Regions from separate parts of the Homo sapiens genome. Here region 1 is linked to region 2. Evidence: promoter capture Hi-C in human tissues and cell types (Jung and others, 2019). All regions are on one chromosome and are shown on one strand. Each heading gives the region's core, a stretch centred on a gene start or on the middle of the fragment in contact. The rest is flanking DNA. Distances are from core to core; before and after follow the strand shown. Region 1 has its middle 17 kb from the start of GHITM. Region 2 holds the start of CDHR1 (cadherin related family member 1).

Region 1 (4,208 bases), core at 283-2,782, 72 kb after region 2:
GGAAAATATGCAGGACCTAAGGGAGATAATAATAAAAGGAATTCGGGAATCAGTACCCTGAACCTGAAATCTTTCTAAAGCATTTGATATACAACAGGAAAAGGATGAAGGGCCTATGAGATTCCTAGACAGACTGAGGGAGCAAATGAGGCAATATGCAGGCCTCAATTTGGATGATCCCCTTGGGCAAGGAATATTGAAACTCCAATTTGTCACTAAAAGTTGGCCAGACGTTTCAAAAAAGTTAAAAAAGATAGATAATTGGGAAGACCATCCCCTAAGTGAGCTTCTTAGGGAAGCTCAGAAAGTATACGTGAAAAGGGATGAAGGAAAACAGAAACAAAAGACAAAGCTTGTCTTCCACCTTCCAACAGATGGCTCCAAACCCAGGTACTTCTAGGCAGAGTTTCCAGGGAGCCAGAAACTATAAAGATTCCGAACCAACTTTTAAAGGACTCCAGCCTCCATTAGGAGGACCAAGGTCCTTGTCTACCAGGCCCCCTAAAAAGTATGGGGAAGCAGGGTTAAAGAATCCCAGAACTAAGAGAGAGGAAAGGGAGAGAGAGAGAGGGAAAAGAGAGAGAGGAAAAAGAAAGAGAAAAAGGCAGAAAGAGAGAGGAAGAGACAGAGAGACAAAGAGGGAGTCAAATAGAGAGAGAGAGAAAGACACAGAAAGTCAAAGAGAGAAAGGAAGAGAGAAAGAGAAGTGGTAAAGAGAAAACAATGTACCCTATTCCTTTAAAAGCCTGGGTAAATTTAAAACCTATAATTGATAATTGAAGGTCTTCTCCATGACACTGTAACACTCCAATACCACCTTGTTGTCAGTGTAAACAAGGGCATAGCCCGAAAGCACTGAGGCCACTGACAACCCATAGCCTTCCTATCAAAAATCCTTAACCCAGCAACCCACGGATGGCCCAAATGCATTCAATCTGTAGTGGCATCTGCTTTCCTAGCAGAAGAAAGTAGAAAAATAACTTTTAGAGGAAACTTCATTGTGAGCACACCTCACCAGTTCAGAACTATCCTAAGTCAAAAAAAAAAAAAAAAAAAAAAAGGCAAAAAGGTAGCTTACTAACCCCAAAATCTTAAAGTATGGGGCTATTCTGTTAGAAAAAGATGATTTAACATTAACCACTGATAATTCCCTTAACTCAGCAGGTTTCCTAACTGGGGATCTAAATCTTTTTTTTTTTTTTTGAGACAGAGTCTCACTCTGTCGCCCAGGTTGGAGTGCAGTGGCATCATCTTGGCTCGCTGCAAGCTCCACCTCCTGGGCTCATGCCATTCTTCTGCCTCAGCCTCCCAAGTAGCTGGGACTACAGGCACCCACCACCATGCCCAGCTAATTTTTTATATTTTTAGTAGAGATGGGGTTTCACCGTGTTAGCCAGGATGGTCTTGATCTCCTGACCTCGTGATCCACCCGCCTCGCCTCCCAAAGTGCTGGGATTACAGGCATGAGCCACTGCACCAGGCCCAGGGGATCTAAATCTTAATTAATTACCATACAAAGGTCTGACCAGACCTAGGAGAAACTCCCTTCAGGACAGGACAATAGATGGTTCCTTCCGGGCGATTGAGGGAAAAAGACACAATGGGTATTCAGTGAGTGATAAGGAAATTCTTGTAGAAGCAGAGTTAGGAAAATTGCCTAATAATTGCGCTGCTCAAACGTGCAAGCTGTTTGCACTCATCCAAACCTTAAAGTACTTACAGAATCAGGAAGGAGCCATCTATATCAATACTAAGTTAATATGGACTGAACAAGGTCTTATTAATAGCAAACAATAATTGAAATCCCAAACTTACAAGGTTTTCAACAAAAGTAAAGTTTGCTAAAAGTTAACAGTGTAATATATATTATCCTAACTTCTAATCTTTTGGCCTTAGACAGTATAGTCCACAGAAATGAAGAAAGTTCGCTTTGGAAAAGAATGCTTATCATCTTTGAGAAAAAACAAAAGGTGGGGGGGAGGGGGAGAATGTATGTAAAAAGGAATGTTATATGGTAAATTCTTGTCCTAAAAATAAATTAACTGGTTGTTTAAAAAAAGGGATGTTTGCAACAAGTCAGAAAGTTGGTGCATGTCAAAGAATTGTCTGTAAAAGTCGTGAAAAAATATTATAAAAGGGAATTTATGCAAGAAATGTTGTATAATTTAAAAGTATTTAGGCCTCCTGAATGTAAAACTATTGAAGAAACAGTTTATGTGCAAGGTGTATAAGGAAAGTAAAATATACCTTTGGTAAAAGGATTATAAGGAGGCATAAGAATGTGGATTTTTACCTATGTCAAAAGGTTAAAAAATTTTTGTTTTAAAGGTTTAAGCAAGTTTTGAAAGGTTAATTGTAAAGGAAGTTCTGTGTGTAAACATATTGGCTAAAGTTAAAGAGATATCATCCAGTTTTTCTGTGAACTGGACATTAAAATAAAAGCACAACAGGTTTTTCTTAAAGCACTAACCTGCTCCTTAACACAAATATAAAAGGTTAAAAAGAGTCTATAAAAACTTACCTTATGGTCAGACATTAAAATTAGATAAATATGTCTACAATGTTTTATTACAATTGAGTTTAACATTAATAACACACTAATATAAAGTTGAAATTTAGCTTATCTGGTATAAAAATCATACGGGAACCACTGTCGAATATAAAATGGTGTTTGACTTTTTTTAGTCTAAAAACTAATAAAAATAGGTGCTAAAGGAAATTTCTCAGTAAGAAGGTACCAAGGACTACAAAGTCCACTGCTGATGTCCCCACATTTAAAACAAAAGGTCAGTTTCTTAGAAATTATATACTTGGTTTATCTTCCACTTTCCTTTCCCTCAAAACTAAAAGTCTTTTAGCACAGGTACCACCCCTAGAACTTCCAGTAAACTAACACCAGCTTGAAGATCACGTTCTCATCAAAGGGTGGAAGGAAGGAAAACTTGAGCTAGCCTGGGAAGGACCCTACCTTGTGCTGCTAACTACCGAGACTGCTGTTCATACAGTGAAAAGGGGATGGACTCATCACACCTGAGTCAAGAAAGTGCCACTGCCTCCAGAGTTGTAGGCCATAGTCCCAGGGGAAAACCCTACCAAATTAAAGCTAAGAAAAATTTAACACTTTCATCTATTCTATTACTCTTTCTTCTTTCCTTGCTCTATTGCTGACCATCTAGTTATTAACATAACCAAGTCAATTTCACCTCAAACTATTGCATTTAATGCTTGCCTTGTTATACGCTGTGGGGACTTGCCAGGTCAAAGACAGCTCTCTACTTCAGAAAAGTACCTCTGTCTCTCCTGACTTTCCTCAGACTGGGCATTAGTGAATTAGGATCATTTAATCTGAGGAGATTTCAATAAAGACCCCAGTGTCAACCAGGAGTCTTGTTCCCTGATGTAGTGCTTTTATGCCATAGTTGGTCCAACATTCTGTGGACCACTAAAGACCAAGAATGGACTGTCCCAACCGGTTTTTGTAATTTCCTAAAACCATACATTCATTTTACTAGAGGGACAGCCCTTCCCCTTAACTGTCAGCTAAACCAGTGTAATTCTATACAGGTTATTATCTCAAACCCCCAAAGTTCTTCCCCTTTTCTAAGCCGGTTCCCTTCTTTAAGCCGGTTTTATGGTATGGGGGCTGAGGTTTCAGAGACAAACCCTATTAGATTCGTTTCTTTGATCCCCCACCAACTGCATCTTCCTCTAAGCCTTCTTCCAAAACCTCTCACAATGGAACAATTGCTCTTCTTCCATCTAACAACAAGACCAAGATAGCTATCATAAAAGTTAAAGACTGAAAACAAACTTTGGCAATTAAGACAGGATACCAAGATGCAAATGCCTGGTTGGAATGGATCAAATATTCCTTCCCCCATGTTAAACAAAAGCAATTGTTATGCTTGTGCGCATGGCAGGCCAGAGGCCCAGATTGTCTCCTTTCCACCAGGGTGGTCCTCCAGTCAACTGGGTGTGGGCTGCATGATAGCTCTTTTCCAGGATTCTACAGCCTGGAGTAATAAGTCATGCCAAGCTCTCTCTCTGCTATATCCTGAAGTCTGGCACCCCGCGGGTCAGCCCCTGAGGGCCATCCAGCTTCCATCTCCCAACACTAAGTTCAATTCATGTCTCTCATGACAGGGAGGAAACTTAGCATTTTTTGGAGACCTTAAGGGATGCAGTAAGCTTAAGAATTTTCAAGAGCT
Region 2 (4,789 bases), core at 1,802-4,301:
ATTTTGGGACTTTTGTGTCCGGGGTTCTTATAAACTCAGAGACCCAGAGGGTCTGTTGGGGCTCCAACAGAAAATACTCTCCTGCCACAGTGAGGCGAGATGTCGACCTTAGTGTGCTCAAGGTCCCATAAAGACTTTTCCTCTTTCTTTTCCCTTTTCTCCCCTTTTCTCTCCACACCTCTCCACATTCCAGGGCTCTGCAGAGGCTCACATCCATGGTGTCTCAGTGCTCCCAGGATATGGTGAGACCTCAATGGGGAAGGGTATCGGATGTTGCCAGATCCCGCGGGTGCCAGGGAGTGGGGTACTGGCAGCACAGTCAGGCTCCACTGCTGTGTCCCCACAGCAGTCCCTGAGACCTCCCTTTCCTTTCTCTACCCTGTCCTGCAGCTAGTGGAGGCTGTCACGAGCTGGCAGCATCCCCACAGCTGAGGTCCAGTTAGCCACACACCAGGCTGCTATGCGGTCTGAAAAAGCCCATGCCCTGTTGCCTGCAAGTTCTCAAGTGTGTAGAGTGGAGGAGCTCTGCCAAACTCAGACTCACTGCCAACCACCCTTTCCAGCCTTGACCTGCTCTGAGTTCCTGTGCCTCTCCCAGGACAGGCTTGAAAAATCACTTTGTGAGGTTTCTTTCAGAAACCTCAAAGTGCAAACGGATTTATTTTTAATGGAACATGCTTAAAAGATTAGCAGGGCTGGCAGGTGCTCGTTAAAGGAGCCCACTCTTCGCTCTGTGTGAAGGAGGAGCATGAAAGTAAAGCCCACTCTGCTGATGGGAAGTGGCCCAGAGATCTCACAGAGTGGATGTGCCTGGGGTGTGCCCCCTCATCCCCTACTCTGTGGAGAGGTTCTAACCAATGTGCTCCAGGGGAACTTCAGCCCACCGAGGTCTGTCTACAGGCAGTGGCCCCGCAGCACTCCCCACACCTCCCCATACCTCTCTGTCCAGCTCTTCAACCAGGGTGATGTTTCCAAAAGTGGGGTCAACAGAAAAGACGCTTCTAGTGCTGGGGTCAAAGCTGATGTGGTAGGAGATGGGGTCTCCCTCAGGGTCTGTCCCATTCAGGGTGTATACGTGAGAGCCTGGAAGGAAACACAGTGGAGAGACATAGAATCTGAGACCCAACTTTTCCTAAAAGTGGCAGATGCTCAGGACCAACGATTCAGCTGTTTATAAAGTGACTATTCAACTCAGTGCCAAAGGTACTGCCCTGAACTTGGTGCTCATTGCTGGCCTCACCCCTGCTGGCTGCTTCCCTCTTTGTATGTTTATTCTTCACAGCGGGTGGTTGTGATGATCAGCCACTTTCCAGATTGTAATCTATAACACGGGTTACAGAGCAGGTGCAGGTCTGCCGTGCCTAACTGTAGTGCCTATGTTCTGCTCAGCCTGGTAATAACTCCTCTCTCAGGATCCAAGATTGAGGGGCTCCTGGGTACAGGGAAGGGGAAATGGGAGCAGCCATTAAGGCAGGAGGGGTGACCCACAGTGCACCACTGTCCCCGATGCCTGGACCTGGTTCTGCAGGGATTTCTGAGCCAGGTGCCTACTTTGCTCTGCTCTCCCTTTTCCCCGGGTTCCCACTACCCACAAAGTGAGGGAGAAGGAGTGTGAAATCTCCCCTTTCTCCTCCCCTCTCTCTGCATATCTCAGCAAGTTGGATGTTCTTAGGCCGTTTTAAAGCCTAGAGACCTGGGGCTCAGGGAGGTAAATACATTTGTTCAAGGTCACACAGCCATAAGGGGCAGCTGTAGCTGCCTGCCTCGCGGGGCGACCCTGTCTGTGGGGGGGAGCCCTGGTCTCCAGGACTGGCCAGACTTAAGTCGCCATGGCAGCAATGACCTTCTTTCCTGCCATTGCCCAGGGGAATTCGGAGAGCAAACAAGGAGCCCCCGGGCGCGCGCAGCAACTTGGGTGGTGCCTGGGGCACTTTGTGTTCTAAGTCTGCCTGCACCCCTCAGGGAGACCTATCGGGAGCAGGTGCCAGGGCTACTCACCTACAGGGGTGTCCTCTGGGAGGCTGAACAGAGCCATGTTTCCGTTGGTGCTGCCGACCCCGTTGTCGAAGAAGTGCGGGGCGAAGTTGGCCTGAGCTGGAAAAAGAACACAGAACAGACGGACACCCAGGCAAAGGACACCCAGACACCAGGAGGGAGCTTCGCACCAGCGCGGTCCCGCGTCAGGCCCAGCTACTGGGCAGGAGGGCGCTCCGCCTCCCCAACCCAAGTGCACCGAGGGACCCCACTGGGGCGCCGCCCAGAGGATGCCCCTGACCCCCACTCCGCCCCCGGTGGGCTCGGGCTTGTCAGGGACACGTAGCATGTGGGCGCTTAGAACCCAGGTAGCAATCCAACCCCTCCTTCATCAATGGGCAGATTGCACCCGCGCTCGGAGAGGGGCAGTGCCCCAGCCCAGCCAAGGTCAAGCCGCGAGTCAGGGCACTATCTCCTGCCCCACGCAGCATCGGAGCTGCCACCAAGCCTACAGCTCTGGTTCCCAGCAAGCGGAGAGCAGCGGGGGTCCGGGCGCCAAACCCTGGGGCCCTAGGATGCCAGCTCTGGAGAAGCGCCCCGGAGCTCCCCACTACTCCGCTACCCCACTCCCCACTACCGAATGGGCCAGGAAGATGGAAGGACTTCTCCGCTCCCGTCCACCAGCCCGAGTCCCACTCTGGAAGTGGTCCAGGACCATGTCCCTCTGGCCACCTGGGTGACGCCAGCGCCCATCTCCCTCGCCATCCACGCGGCCAGCGCGGCCCAGCGGCCACTCACCCAAGCAGAGGCGCAGCAGCCCCAGGGCCAGGGCGGCCCACCGGCAGCGCCTCATGTCTCCGCCGGCGCGGAGTGTCGCCTGCCGCCGCCGAGACCGGGCGCAGGGGCACGGAGCATGCCCTGGGCCCGCGGGGAGGGCAGAGACCACAATGGGGGTAGCGGCGACTGCAGCCGCGGCGGGAGGGGGCACGGGGCGGGAGCGGCGGGTGGCGTGAGGGCGCTAAGAGGATGACACGGCTCGGATCTGCTCCTGCCGGCCGCCTGACGAGACCAATTAGCGGCGCAGAGCGGAGCGACAGGCTCCCAGCCGCGGGCGGGGGCAGGAGGGCGTGACAAGAGGACTCCCCGCCCGCCACGCCCCCTTTGCCGGCGGCCCCCAGTCCTGGACAGGAGGACACCATGGGGGACAGGAGTGTCTTTCCCCCAAGTTGTCCTGAGGCTTTCCCAGGGTACTTAAGTCCTGGTGGGGCTTGGGCTTCGCAGTTTTCTTTTCTCATCAACTTCCTCTGTGACTTTCAGGGGCTTAGCTGTCTTCTCTGAGCTAAGCATTCCAGAAGAAAAGTTAGTGGAGCGGCCGAGAGGGCCTTGCCTTAGCAGTCTAAGCAGGTTCTATAAGCCGCGTGAGACCAAAGGCAAAGAGAAAGGGTGATGGATGGGCAGCAGATGGTAAGGGGTTATCAGGACCCCCTCTCTGTGATCTCAACCCATTCCTGCCCTGTTCCCCAGGCTGGACCACCTCTCCCAAAGGGTCTGATCTGTGTGGTGGGCAGCAGGGAGGACCCTCAGGTGTCCACCAGGGTGAGAGGCAGTTCTGCTCCCCATTCCCAGTCAGTGCCCAGTCTGGGACCATGAAGGGGCAGCTGACCCACTCTTCAAACCTTCCAAGGAAGAGTGAAGGGCCTGAAGGCAGAGTTAAGCCCCATCTTAGGACAGACTTGCACAGAGCTGGCCAAGATAGATCTGAACTGCCCGAGAGGCACGAGATCTCATTCCTAGAGGGTATTTACACAAAGCAAGGCACTGCTATTGGGGTCCTGGATGCTGATAACTTGAAGACACAGGTAAGCCCAGGAACCTTTTTGGCTGCTGGTAAAGCTCCTTGGGCTTCCTCGTTCTCCTGCTCTGACACTGGAGGGTGCTTGGAAATGCAGCCTGTTTTCCTTTTCCTGGTTGGGCCATTTATGGGGGTACAGGTCACTTCAAGCCCAAGCCAGGCCACTTCCCAGGATGCCCTTGGGTGGATGTGTTCTCAGATAGAGGAGATCCCTCCTCTGTGTGCTCCTGGGAGAGGTCTCCACAGCTGAGGACTCAGCATTCCCCCCCTCCCCCTGCCAGGGGCCTTTGAGGGAACAGAGCACCCCCCATCCCTTGGTCTAGCCCTACATGATCTACTGTGAGCAAGGGTCAGGGATTTGCAGAGAAGAAGGAAGATGAATCAATGGTTTTAGAATGTGCAGCAGTTTTCAGGCCTAATTGGCCGAAACCCTTGTTGAGTCTCCTTAGGCTTGGCTCTTTTGCTGAAAAGACACACTTTAAATTGCACAGATGTTCTGAATCTGCCTCCCAAAGTGCTGGGACAAAGCTAAGGCAAGTATTCTGCAAGTCCCATATAGGGATGTGGAGACTGAGTCTTGCCGTGGATTTCCCAGGAGCCAGAGGCAGAGCCAAGGTTTCCTGGAGTAGATGTCTTGGTGGGCCGAGAAAAGCCAGCTCTCCCTGGGTCCTGTTAGCCCTGCTCCTCACCAATCTAGGGCCGTTGATTTCTCTCTCCTCAGTTCCCTCAGTCAACAGCCATGCACTGGAGAGGGAAGGGGAAGGAGTAGCCTACATGCCATGTGCTGTATGTGTGCTTATGTATATTTGCCCATATTATCTTATTTGACCTGCACTGCTCTCCCAATGTGATTTTCTCTGCTTTGCAGAGGAGGGAGATTTCCTCATTGGCTGTGTACGACCAAGCAAGTGACTTATTCTCTCTGAGGTGCAGAGCTTGGATTCACATACAGTTTGGGTTGGC

The links. The method cuts DNA at HindIII sites, captures the fragments that hold promoters and counts their contacts. A contact is called where the count stands out against the background at its distance.
Region 1: a fragment that was not itself captured here is called in contact with the fragment with the promoter of CDHR1 in region 2 in 2 of the 25 tissues and cell types used here (H1 embryonic stem cells and liver).

The regions. Positions count from the first base shown.
Region 1 is chr10:84,119,965-84,124,172 of GRCh38, reverse strand. No RefSeq gene overlaps it. Among named protein-coding and RNA genes, the nearest start is that of GHITM, 17 kb to the left of the region's middle. The HindIII fragment of the contact is 6,156 bases long and covers 1-4,208 here.
Region 2 is chr10:84,192,799-84,197,587 of GRCh38, reverse strand. It overlaps CDHR1 (cadherin related family member 1), which reads right to left and starts at 3,051. Exons shown (of 17, transcript NM_033100.4): 1 at 2,773-3,051; 2 at 1,999-2,094; 3 at 938-1,083. The coding sequence starts at 2,827. RefSeq lists silencers at 2,836-2,955, 3,026-3,155. The HindIII fragment of the contact is 10,516 bases long and covers 1-4,789 here.